2 separate regions of the Homo sapiens genome follow, and region 2 is linked to region 1. Evidence: promoter capture Hi-C in 16 types of primary human blood cells and fetal thymus (Javierre and others, 2016). All regions are on one chromosome and are shown on one strand. The core of a region is centred on a gene start or on the middle of the fragment in contact, and the rest is flanking DNA. Distances in the headings are between cores, read along the strand shown. Region 1 overlaps AHCYL1 (adenosylhomocysteinase like 1). Region 2 holds the start of MYBPHL (myosin binding protein H like).

Region 1 (6,711 bases), core at 2,338-4,837:
CCTTAACCACCCATCTTTTCTTTTAGGAAATAAGAATGTAGTGACACGGGAGCACTTGGATCGCATGAAAAACAGTTGTATCGTATGCAATATGGGCCACTCCAACACAGAAATCGATGTGGTAAGGCTTCTCTCATTTGTTGCTAGGCATTTCTCTACTACCTTTCATTAATAACCATAGTCAACTGTGCTTTCTTCCTTTCAGACCAGCCTCCGCACTCCGGAGCTGACGTGGGAGCGAGTACGTTCTCAGGTGGACCATGTCATCTGGCCAGATGGCAAACGAGTTGTCCTCCTGGCAGAGGTACACACAGAGAAGGACCCTGGCAGAGCAGCACAAGCAGAGTAGTTAGATCTATGAGGGGGGAGGGGAGGGAAACAAATATTAGGCCTATGTTTCCCTGAATTTTATCTTTGGAGAGAGAGATATTTCACAAATTGGTCCCCAAAATAAAACCACTTTAAAAAAATCTACTTTTTACTAAGTAACACTATTTCCTAACCACAGCTGATTCTTTAACCTTTCAGACTCAGATGGATTTGCAGAAAATAGGAAAAAGCCTAGAGTCCTGATCTGGAACTGTAATTCTTCCTCTTCCAACTGAGTCTAGAGGGGTGTAAAGTCCTCTCCCGCTTTGGCTTGACTTGTATGCCATTGGAATCTGAGACAGAGCTCATCCCAGGGCTCTCTCTTACCTTTCCAGGGTCGTCTACTCAATTTGAGCTGCTCCACAGTTCCCACCTTTGTTCTGTCCATCACAGCCACAACACAGGTATGTGGCAAAATGCCTGCTTACACTGCACTGCAATTTGTGGAACTGGGCGTAGATCAGTTCCAGTGAGGGTGTACTGTACTATGTTCTCATCATCCTATTCTTTTTTGATGTAATAAATTGTGGAAACAGGTATTCTTAAGTATAGAAAAGAGTCACTAAGTCAGTATTCGTTGAATTGGCTGTTTTAGTTGAGAATATAATGTTCCAGCTTAGTTTTATTTGATTTGTTCTTTCGTTAGGAACTAAACAAAAACAACAAATCCTCTTAGGATGTGTGCTGCCCTTTAGTATAGGCAAAGTCCTAGGTACTGTGACTGTGGTAGATCACTGTAGTACTTACCCAAATGCTGTTTAACCTGGTTTTATTTTTATGTGCCTGTCTAAGAAATATTTTTGTGCTTTCTGGCCTTCTTTTCCCACCTTAGGCTTTGGCACTGATAGAACTCTATAATGCACCCGAGGGGCGATACAAGCAGGATGTGTACTTGCTTCCTAAGAAAATGGGTGAGTGAAAAACAGTGGAAATCTATGCAGACAGCTGCATAGTTTGGTAAAATGACTGCCATGAAAGGCATTGGATTTAGAGTCAGAGTTCCAATTCCTGTTCCTGTGCTTACTGGTTGTTTGACCTCAGGACAAGTTCTAATCTCTATGATCCTCAGTTTCTTGATTGGTAAAATGAAAATAATACTACATACATTGTAGAATTGTGTGAGAATCACAGCTAATGAGTAACAGTGCTTAACACAATGGTTTAGGGAGATGTTCTTACTCTAAGTAGCCTTATGAAGTTCAGTAAACTTCCCAGTGCAGCTGAGTACATACAGCCTTGGAACAAAATGAGAGAAACAAACACAGGTTTTATTGTCCATTTTCTGTGAGGATATGCAAACCATCCAATCTCTTGTAAGCAACCCATGCTGTGTTCATGTGACATAATACATCATCTCTAGTCCTTTGCCTTTCTGCACGGTGTACCCATCTCCCATATCTCCTTGGCTAGCCCAAATCCCTGACTTCTTAATGCTAAAATACTTCTTGCTCTCCTCTCCTCCAATAGCTTACTTCAGACTTTTTTTTCAGTGTATAATTATAAAAGGGAAGCTTATCTATGGAAAAGTAAAAATTCTGTGCCGACTACCTTAGAAATTCATGATCCTAAGATCCATGGATCTTATCCTAAATGAGTGTTATTGACACAGGGTCTTTCTAGCTTACTGGTGTCCACTTTGATTGCTAATTTGACTATAATCTAGTTAAGGAGGTTGCTGCAGGAAGGTAGGAGTAGCATGTGACATGTGGGCCACTGCAGGGAAGCCCCCTGCTTTGCCAGAGAAGGATAGAGAGGTAAAAGCCCACTCCCTTTTGTTACCCTGGTAAGTGGCTTTTCTGAACGCACTGTACATGTGCTGAGAGAAGCATCCTGCCCAGAAAGGCAGCTTTGAGGTTTTTTTTTTAATTAAGCAAATATTTCAAGTTGTGGATTCTTTCAGAGTTATTCCATCCCTTGTCTGCTTTCTTAAAAAAGCTTCAAATGAAAATGGGAAGTTATAACTTGAGAGACATTTTGAAAAGGAGTCTGCTCTCCTGCCACTTTGCTCTTCCTAGATGAATACGTTGCCAGCTTGCATCTGCCATCATTTGATGCCCACCTTACAGAGCTGACAGATGACCAAGCAAAATATCTGGGACTCAACAAAAATGGGCCATTCAAACCTAATTATTACAGGTAACCTGGGGAGAAGCAAGTGAAAAGCTCTTTTTCCCAGTATTAAACCAAGCAGGCTAGCCTGCTTCTGACATAAAGATCAAATGTTGTACCTGATTTTGAAGAATACAAGAAATCTGTTCCAGGCCAGGCACGGTGGCTCACGCCTGTAATCCCAGCACTTTGAGAGGCCTAGGCGGATGGATCACTTGAGGTCAGGAGTTCAAGACCAGCCTGGCCAACATGGCGAAACCCTATCTCTTAGCCGGGTGTGGTGGCGGGCACCTGTCATCCCAGTTACTCAGGTGGCTGAGGCACGAGAATCACTTGAACCTGGGAGGCGGAGGTTGCAGTGAGCTGGGATCATGCCACTGCACTCCAGCCTGGGTGATGGAGTGAGACTCTGTCTTAAAAACAAACAAACAAACAAAAAAACTGTTCCAGTTAACAAGGTAGATAGAGAAATTGTGGGAGATATCAGGGAGTTAGGGTTTTTTTGAAATTTTGGAGCCTGGGCCTCACCCTAAGAGATTCTGATATATTTGGTCTGCGATGGGACCAAATTTACAAAACATTATTTTGTAAAACCTCCCCAGATTATTGTAATGTTTAGTCAGGGTTGAAAAAACACTGACTCATTCCTGGGAACAGGCGGTAACACCAGAAATGGCATTGTCAGAGACCCTGTGGAAGAATAAGGGAGACTGGTGCCCTGGGGAATGACTGCAGGGATCCCACCCAGGCTGGGGAGGGGCCCTGGAGAAGGTGCTCTGTTTCCGATTGTTTTTTGGAATTCTCATATGGAAGACATAAGTGTTAACCAATCACTCTCTCTCTTTACAGATACTAATGGACCATACTACCAAGGACCAGTCCACCTGAACCACACACTCTAAAGAAATATTTTTTAAGATAACTTTTATTTTCTTCTTACTCCTTTCCTCTTGATTTTTTTCCTATAATTTCATTCTTGTTTTTTCATCTCATTATCCAAGTTCTGCAGACCACACAGGAACTTGCTTCATGGCTCTTTAGATGAAATAGAAGTTCAGGGTTCCTCACTCTAGTCACTAAAGAAGGATTTTACTCTCCCAGCCCAGAAAGGTGATTCTTTCTTTACCATTTCTGGGGACTTTAGTCTTAATTAGGTACCTTATTAACAGGAAATGCTAAGGTACCTTCTCTGTGGAACAATCTGCAATGTCTAAATCGCCTTAAAAGAGCCCATTTCTTAGCTGCTGAAATCAGTGCTCTTTCACTTCTTCAGAGAAGCAGGGATGGTACCTACCCGGCAGGTAGGTTAGATGTGGGTGGTGCATGTTAATTTCCCTTAGAAGTTCCAAGCCCTGTTTCCTGCGTAAAGGTGGTATGTCCAGTTCAGAGATGTGTATAATGAGCATGGCTTGTTAAGATCAGGAGGCCCACTTGGATTTATAGTATAGCCCTTCCTCCACTCCCACCAGACTTGCTCATTTTTCGAGTTTTTAACTAGACTACACTCTATTGAGTTTAATTTTGTCCTCTAGGATTTATTTCTGTTGTCCAAAAAAAAAAAAAAAGAAAAGAAAAATTAAGGAGAATTTTTGGTGTTAATGCTGAGGAATTGCTTGAGTGGTTAGTTGTTACCAATTTCTCTTTTGAACCTTTGGAGCTAAGGATGCTGAGTCTAGAGAAATGCTAGTCTCAAGCCCTGTTAAGTCCCTCTGTTTCTAGCCCGTAGTTCATAGCATCAGTGAACTGGAGCCACAACAGCAAATTCTATCAGCTGTGTACCATACAGCTTGTGCTGAAGGCGAATTTCTTGAGCCATTACTCAGTATAAAGCACTGAGTTCTATCTTTAGGATTTATCTTTAAGAGCAAATTTCTGGTCAGCTGTGCTTCTGCAACCTAAAATATTTAAAGGGAGGTAGGTGTGGGCAGGAGGAGGAATGATAAATTGGGCCAGGGCAAGAAAAATCTAGCTTCATATAATTTGTCTGGGACTATACACCCTATATAATGTTAGTTTTACAGAAGTAATATGACTTTTGATTGCTACATACCACAAAGAGTTTATGAACTGAGATCATAAAGGGCAACTGATGTGTGAAGAAAGTAGTCAGTACATCCTGGCTCATGCTCTGAAAGAATATCCAGAGAGGCTCTCTCAAAGATCAGGGAGATGTATTCCCATGCCATGCACCCTGCTTCCCAGCATTTCTGCATGGTCAAGTGAGCTTTATGCTCATGAGCTTTAAGTATATAATTATCCAGGATTTTAAATCCTCAACTTGTTCTAGCTTGTGATCCCTCAAAGTTGGGTCATACGTTAGTGCTAGATACTAGAAATTTTCACTTTTCCACTGATCAGAGAGACAGACATTAAAAACAAAAATAGAAGAAAGGAAAGCTTTCACCCTGCAGCTTCTTAGCAGGGAACAATTGTCTTGCCAAAACTTTTTTCCCTTTTCTCTCCCATTTTCTTTTACCCAATCCCTTCTTACTCCTTGCCAGTGTGACCATGCTTTCTTCTCTGTAGATGTTAACAGTTAAGGCCTATTTTCCTCGGGCACTTAACCAACCAATCAGAACACCACATCTGTTAGGGGAGGTAACCTGGCCAACAGTGTATCCATCACGTTAGCCCTGCTGGAGGGAAGGGACCCACATTCACCTGCCCTCTGACCTGCCCCTTGATCCCATATCTATTACCGTGTCCATAGGAATAATAGGTAAGGGCTCTGTCTCTGTCAAGCCATGTAACAAAGGACACTGTTAAAAAAAAAAAAAAGTCTGGCATCAGAGGGAGCATGTGGAGAGCAACTTGGGAAGAACAAGTTCATTTTGTATTGAATGATTTTTAATGAATGCAATATTAATCCTTGCAGATGAGCAATAATCATTAAAATCGATTAAAATGATAAGACCTTATTGGCAGTCCGTATGTGTCATTCTTTGTTAAACAGCAAAACTTCATTAGAACCTGTTTTCTAGGGTGTGACAAGTTATAGGTCAGTAGCATTTAATAGAGATTTGTTGAGGGCCTAATATATAGAGGCTGGATACAGGATTCTTCAAAGTAATACCTGAAGTTTTGTATGCCTGCTCTGTGCCAAGCACCGGGCCTGGGTACTTTCACTCCTAACTTCCTTCAGGAAGCAGACTTGCTGCTTAAGCCTCAGGGTTCCTCATTTGCATAGTCCTTCTAAGACCTAATTTCTGAAGAATGCCCCCAAAGTTATGTAAGCTTCAGCCTCCTCCCACACCTGTATCCATTTCTGAAGTGGTCTCAGTGTCTTTTTTTTTTTTTTTTCTCTTTATTTTTTTGAGACAAGGTCTCACTGTCACCCAGGTTGGAGTGCAGTGGCTTGATCTCAGCTCACTGCAACTTCTGCCTTCCGGGCTCAAGTGATCCTCCCACCTCAACCTCCCAAGTAGCTGGGACCACAGTGTCAGCTAATTGTTTGTATTTTTGGTAGAGATGGGGTTTCGCCATGAAATCTAGGCTGATCTCAAACTCCTGGGCTCAAGTGATCCTCCTGCCTCTGCCTCCCAAAGTGCTGGGATTACTGGCCAGTGTCTTCTGATGTAAGAAAGTATTTATCTTGGTCAGTTTCTGCTGCTCCAGCAAAATCCTGAGACTGAGTAATTTATAAAGAACAGAAATTGATATTCTCACAGTTGGAGGCTGGGAAGTCCAAGGTCAAGTCGTTGGCAGATTTGGTGTCTGAAGAGGGCTGCTGCCTGCTTCCAAGATGGTACCTCTTATGCATCCTCATATAGCAGAAGGTAGAAGGGCAAAAAGGACCTAACTATTACCTCATATATGCCAAAGTCTGTTTTAGATACTGGGGATACATCAGTTTAAATCAGATGATCTCTTCCTTTGTGGTGTTTACGTAAAATTCCAACAAGATCCAAATTCCTTCCCTTTTTCCTTTACCCACAATTTGGCCATTAGGTAAGACAGAGCAAGCTAGGGATTCATGTGGATTTGCAGCCTGTGAGTGTGGGTGGTATCCTTGTGGGAACTGGGGATGTAGCTTGGTACAAGGAGTCAGATCCCAAGTGGCGTGGGGAATGCATCTATGCAGGGGATGAATGGCAATGGCAGATTAGTTAGGGATAAGGGATTTGATCACTGTACGTGAAAATATTAAGGGTAGCGGAAGCCAGCTGTCTCATTTTGGAGGAAGGTGTTACACATTGGAAAGGGAAAACACTAGAATGAACTCTGCTGTTGGGT
Region 2 (6,711 bases), core at 1,818-4,317, 710 kb before region 1:
CCCCAAATATCTGCATGCATTGCTTTCTCACATCCTTTAAGTTGCTGCTCAAATGTCACCTTATTAGTGAGACCCTCACTGAATATTCCATTTGAAGCAGGAAGCCTGCATGCTTCCTACCCGAAGCACGTTCTATCCCCGTCCCTGCATTAGTTTTGGCACAGCATTTCTCACCATCTGACATATTAGATACTTTACTTGTTTATTTATTGTCTAGCTCCCTCCACTAGAATCTAACTTCCATGAGGGCAGTTATTTTTACCTATTTTGTTCATTTCTGTAATTCTGGCACCTAGAAGAGCGCCTGGCACATCATAGGCACAACCTAAATATTTGTGGAAGGAAGGAGGAGGAAAGGAAGGACGGAAGGAAGGAGGGAAGAAAGGTCACTCCTAGGCATGAGATTCAGTTTCCCATGCCTGGAAGACACAGAACAGTTCAGATTGAAAGAGAACACAGAGTCAGTTGGAGCGATGATGCTGAAGTCAGCAGATGGGCTCTTTCTCCTCCACCTCAGGGTCCCAGGGAACGCCTCTTTGCTGAGAGGCACACAGAGACCATCGTGAAGGGGAAATTGAATGCTTCTTCCAGGAGAGCTCCACTTCCGTGGAGCTCAGACTCTGAGGGGTCAGGATCTCCTATGGGAGCAGTGGGGGATTGGAGGAGGTCCTGACCCCGTGGTACTGCCCAGCAGGAGGCCGAGTGTCACATTGTCCATGGGAGGGATGCAGCTTGTTCCCCAGCCTCTCCCTGTTTTGGAAGCTCTTCTCTGGCCCCTGCCAAGCTTTGTCTCCAGGACACAGTACTCAGTGTAGTGCTGAGGACAGACATAGAACTGTTTACCAATGCTGGCCACCTACTCCTGCTTATTTAGCCATGTAGCAGGCTTGCCAAACTAAAAGCTCATTGTTGGCCATTTGCAGTTGGTTTTGATCTTGCAAATTAATTTCTATTTCTGATGCCTGCTCTAGTTCCCATGTTTTCACATGCTTCCTGTGATACTCAGTCCCAGAGCTCTCTGTAAGGAAGAGGAGTTAGGAGGAAGAAAGGCTTTGGAGCTCTCAGGGGGCTTAGGGGTCATCTAGTCCAGGCCCATGCATTGCACCCTGAAGGATCTTTGGTGGGGGTTTGGGGCTCTGTTGGCTCTCTGAACTTTTTTGTGTATTTTTCCAGGGGCAAGAGTCCACAGCTGGCATTAGATTTTCCTAGGGGTCCATATCCACCAAAAGGTTAAGACCCTGATTTGGTTCAACTCCTCAATTTACAGATGAGAAAATGGGAGTGGATTGACTTGCCTAGGGCCACAGAACAGAGCTAAGATTTGAACTCATGACTTCTTTGTTCCAAGTAGTTAACAGATGCACATATATTTTGCAAAGTATTCAAAGGTGTTCTTATTGCCAGTGACTTCTGGGATACCACTGGGTTGAGCCACTGGGTGCTAGTGGCCCTGAGGCCTGCAGTGTACAGAGCTGCTGCACACGAGAGGCTTTGGGCTGCATTTGCGGGCCCGTGACTGGGGGCTGTCAGGAGCTGGCTGCAGCCAGAGGGGAGAAGCATGGGGGAGATGAGCACTCTCCCTTGTGCTTTTGGGAAGACCAGTAGAGAGAGCTGAGGCGTCAGCAGTCCTGGCTCTCATTCTCCTGCTGCCTGTCACTTATTCTCTGGGCCTTTTAAGGGAAGAAACTGGTTTTCTGCCTCCATCACCCCAGCTTAATATATTTACACTAACTTTTGCTCCCTTCATCTTCAACGGGACAAACTTGGCCAGCTCTCTGCCCTTGACATTCAAATAGTTTCTGGAAACCTGGCCTCTCCCATGAGGATAAGAGGCAGACAGAGTCTGCTGCACAACCCTATGGAGGTAGAACGCAGCCTTCACCTCTCACTTGGAAATATTTGATCATTTATTTACATCTTAGTTTGGCCTCTTCCAAGGCACCCTGGATCATCTCAGCAATCCTTTCAACTACCCTGATAGGTAGATGTTATTAATCACCATTTTACAGAGTGAAAATGGAAACTGAGCAGTCCAGTGACTTGTCCAAGGTCACAGGGCTGTTAGAGGCGGCACTAGGAATTGAGCCTAGAGCTTTGCCTCCAAGTCTAGTATATCTTTTCCCCTGCCTCTTCCTGCCCTAGGAGTCCACGTGTTTCTTGATTGTGGTCTTTTCATCCTCTTAAGACTTTCAGGTGAGCGCCACGAAGTGGTTAGCTACAGAGGCCTCAGCCAGGGCATTCAGGGATGGGCGGCAGGAAGCTCGGGGTTGGAATTCCTCACTTGGGAACGCCTCTTTGCTGAGAGGCACACAGAGACCATCGTGAAGGGGAAATTGAATGCTTCTCCCAGGAGAGCTCCACTTCCGTGGAGCTCAGACTCTGAGGGGTCAGGATCTCCTATGGGAGCAGTGGGGGATTGGAGGAGGTCCTGACCCCGTGGTACTGCCCAGCAGGAGGCCGAGTGTCACTGTGCTGCCCCACTCTTAGCCTCCCCATTGCCATAGCATTTTATTTCCCTGTTCCTTCAGCAGACAGTCACTATCTCTTACCCCTCAGTCCCTTCCTGACTGGCCATTAGTATATCAGGTCTTCCCAGTCCCTATGACAATTTTTTAAAAGGTAAAAATATAAACAGATCATTTTTAGTCACTGTAAAGTGCCACCAACACCATCACTGACTTCTCAGCTAAAACACAAAAACTTAGCAGGGACATTTGAGCAGCAAGTTAGACTCCATCAAGGACAGGGGATGGGGGCTCTCACGAATGATCTCCAGCCTAATCACCAATCCTATAGAGTCTTTAGCTCTGCAGAAAACCTGAGGCGCCGTTCAGGAAGGTGGCGATGTCTTCCCCAACTCCCACCACCCGGCCTCCCCACCCTCCCCACCTGCCATGGGTCACCTTCTATAGGGGGCAGGAGCTGGGGAGTGGGGCTGCCAGCCCCCTGTCCAGGTGAAGCCTGGGGTGGTTCAGCATCCGCTGGGCTGGCTTCTTTCACCTTCAGCTTGGATCCTGCGGCCACCTCCGGAGCTGTGGCTGCCTCCATGCTGGGCCTTCCCAGAGGCTGAGCTCCAGCTCTAGATTTTCACTGCTGGTGATGAGGGAGGGGCTGAGCACCTGCTCCCAGGCTGGCCTCCCGGGTCCCAGCCACAGGGTTACGTAACTGGGCTGGCCCTCCCCACTCAGCTACGCCCAGCAGAAAGGCTGAAGTAGGGGTTGGGGGAGAGAGGAGGATCAGACAGCAGCCCAGAATAGCCCCAGGAGGACTGAGGTGTCCCTGTTATCTCGGGAGAGAGATGACACCCCCCACAGCACCAGGGAGGGAGAGCTTGAACACACCATCCAAAAGGGACCTCTAATTTCTGTAGGGAGGGTTGAGTGACATCTCTGCTCCTGACCTCCAGTTCATCCCGTGGGGCATTCAGGTCCCAAAGAAGGGGCCCAGGATTAGCTGACTCACAGCAACGCCTGAACTGCTCTTTCTCCCTCTGCTCCCACATTCAATGAATTGTAAAGTCTTATCAACTCGACCTTTACAGGGCCTGTCCCATCCTCCCCCGCTCCCCGGGGGCAGCGGGCACAGCGCAGTGGTAGGTGGAGACTGCACTCGCACTGGCTGCCCAGGTGCCACTTGGGGCTCTGTCACCAACTAGCTGTGTGACTCACAACACCTCACAGTCTCTCTTCAGTCTGTTTCCTCATCTGTAAAATGGAGATAATTATAACCATAGGGTCGTTGTGAGGATTAAAGAGGTAATCTCTGTAAAGTGCTTAGCAGAGTGTAGCCGACTAAGTGCTTGATAAATGTAAGCTATTTTTAGGTCAGGCCAGCACTTCCCCCTTTGAGAGCTGTCAATGGCTGCCTTGCCTATTAGATGAAGTACAAATAAAGGGAGAGGCAGCAGTGGTGGAGGGAGGCGAGCTCAGAGACCTGCGTGTGACTTCTGGCTGTACCACTCACTCACCAGCTGGGACTCTGGGCAAATGGCCGACTCGGAGTCTCAAGTCCCAGTCTATGAAACAAGGGATGATGCCATGATTGTGTTGAGGATAAAATGATACAATCTATAGGAAAGTGGCCAGCTCACAGCAGGTGCTAGTCACATACTACAGGTCCTACATGATTTCCAGACTTAGCAAACCATCTTTCTATACGTGTTGTACATGCCATGGACACTGCCACCTATCATACTCCTACCTTCTTATCTCCAGAAGCCAGCATCCCTCTGCATTTTAAAATGCTTTAATTTTAGAGCAGTTTGAGAGTCACGGCAAAGCTGAGTGGAAAGTATAGGGTTCCCACAGCCCCCTACTCACCCCTGTATTTTTTTCATGGAAAAAAAATGGGTGCAGTTGAACAAATGGACTGACTTCTTACTCATTTTTGCCTTCAATTTTGGGGTAATTGGTAAGATCCCAGGAGCCTGTGTTATCTTGGGGTGACAGAAGCTCAGCCTCTTTGTAACTGGTATAGGAGCTAAGGCCCAGGACAATCTGTTTATTGGGGCCTTGGATGGCCTATGGGGTTGATTTGGTTGGCAGAAGACTGGGTTTTTGCCATATCAGAACTAGCTTGAAGGTCTTTCTGAACTATTTTTCCTGCTTGACCCAGCCAAGGCCCCGTAAGTGTGGACAGTCTCCTAGCCAGGAGACCCCAAATACACCCCCTTTTACACAACACGTAACCCATCTTTTGGTGAGGAAATTGGCCCAGGCTGAGTCTTAGCCCTTTGTTGGAGCGAAGGTGTAAAGAATCAACTTTAAGATGCAGGTTCCTAAGGTTTGCCCATCAGAAAGTCTAATTCAATAGGTCTGGGGTGCTATCCAGAAATCTGCACCTAAAAAAACCAACCTAGTGACTCTGGCGCAGGAAATCTTGGAATACCATGTTAGATAGAATTCCTTCAAATAAAACAACGATCTTAGATAATGTCCTGGGGTAGGAACTCGCCCATCAGATGGGCCTCAGGAACAAGGGCTTTGCCCTGTCATCTTCAGACCAAGGTGCTGGAGTATTACATGGAATATTGCCCCAGGCTAGCAGGGTAGGATGGCTAACGGTTCCAGACGGGTGGGCAGGAACCTCTCTTAAATGCTTTGCAAGAGAGGAAGGCTGCAACTCTCCAAAGGTCCTTAAATGAAAGGGACAAGAAAGGGCCCGTAAGAACAGCAAGAGAAATGTAAGAGGAGCAGATGGGAAGTTACAAAGCTGAACTTCTCAGTGCCGCCAGGGGTCAAACCTGCTCAAAAGAACACAGAATTCAAGGAGTAATTATCTGTTGCTGTGTCCAGAAGGAAGAGTGTAGCAACTGAAACCTGTGAAGGTATGTGGGGTGGGTGCCTAGACTTTCTAGGAGGAAGAACAAGAAAGCTGGTCGTATACACACCCACGGGAGGAAGATCTGTATGAGCACTAAGAGCAAGAAAATGAAGAACAAGAAAATTAGGTAATTTATGGCTCACATTTTTGTGAGACGTTTTCCTCATAGATGACCGAATACATTTCATGCTATAAATGTACAGTCCTGGCTCTTTAAATGGCTTGTTCTCTGGTTGCTGGAGTCTGATTCTGAAGCAAGAAAACTGGAAAAAGTATATCAACAAACTGTAGCTTAGTCATTTCAGTAGGTCAGGTAACAAAGTCCAGTCTGTTTTATTTTTAACCCAAATATTCCAAATATACAGAAAATTACCAGTACAAAGTTAAACACATTCAGATTTATTTACACAATGCTAAAGAAATTTGAGTTTTATTTCCATTTTGTGGAATTTTATCATGGGGTCTGGCTTTAATGTGTAACTGACGTGGGTCACTGAAACTCGATTATCCCACCTCACATGCAATTTTCTGTCCTAAGGGAATAGAAAACTTGGGTTTTTAGGGCACATGCAGTAATGATCTTAATACTGCTTTACACTTTCGTGGGAAGGCAGCTGTCCCACAGCCTGGGGAAGGACCACATGCTCAGAAAGGGAACAAGAGAGAGGGCTGAACAACAGGCACATGGGGACCCTGAGCATTTCTGTGCACGAGGATAAGGAGAGTATGACCAAAACCCTCCTCCCTAGAGGTCCAAACACAGGAGGTGGGCCAAATCATCAGGGAACAGTCAGTCACCCGCTTGTGGCTGAGGGCATGCGGAGGATGAGAACTACATTAAGGATCTGGGGCATAGCAATAAATCATTACCATGTACACTATACAGTTTATATATGTATATATGTACACACACATATATATAAAGGTACAGATTAGTTTATGTTATTCCTTATAAACAAGTACACTTAAGAATGTACTGGTGTGAAGAAATGCATACTGCAAGTTGTTTCGAATTAATGTTCTGACTCTTGTTATTATAATGCAACCTAACCAAGAAATCAACATGCTCCTGCTATTTCAATGATGCTTCATGAGGGCAAGGCCTGGGCTCTGCTAGGGCAGGATGGTGCTCCTAGAGCTACCTGAGCTGGACAAACCCATGGCAGACAGAACAGAAAGTCTGGCACCTGCTGACTCCGGCCCTCCCTGTCACTTCATCACACAGCAAATCTTAAAACTTTGGTTTTTTCAAAGAACATTTAAGTCCATGTTCATTTTCCTGCTTCAGGGAAGATGGTAGCAAAGTTGAAAGCCGAATCCCTTCCTATTTTAGCACTTCCAAGTATCCTGGATGAATATAGGGGCGAGGGGCTACACTGACAATGAGCA

The links. The method cuts DNA at HindIII sites, captures the fragments that hold promoters and counts their contacts. A CHiCAGO score of 5 or more calls a contact.
Region 2: the fragment with the promoter of MYBPHL here is called in contact with a fragment that was not itself captured in region 1 in 1 of 17 cell types (M2 macrophages); the score reaches 5.1 in M2 macrophages.

What each region holds. Positions count from the first base shown.
Region 1 is chr1:110,018,347-110,025,057 of GRCh38, forward strand. AHCYL1 (adenosylhomocysteinase like 1) reads left to right here. Exons shown (of 17, transcript NM_006621.7): 12 at 27-121; 13 at 206-304; 14 at 705-773; 15 at 1,202-1,280; 16 at 2,385-2,505; 17 at 3,328-5,396. The coding sequence ends at 3,334. Among named protein-coding and RNA genes, the nearest start is that of STRIP1, 13 kb to the right of the region's middle. RefSeq lists an enhancer at 1-871. The HindIII fragment of the contact is 2,571 bases long and covers 2,303-4,873 here.
Region 2 is chr1:109,303,944-109,310,654 of GRCh38, forward strand. MYBPHL (myosin binding protein H like) reads right to left here and starts at 3,068. Exons shown (of 9, transcript NM_001010985.3): 1 at 2,904-3,068. The coding sequence starts at 3,048. SORT1 (sortilin 1) reads right to left here. Exons shown (of 20, transcript NM_002959.7): 20 at 5,632-6,711. RefSeq lists enhancers at 2,586-3,325, 3,326-4,064. The HindIII fragment of the contact is 12,327 bases long and covers 783-6,711 here.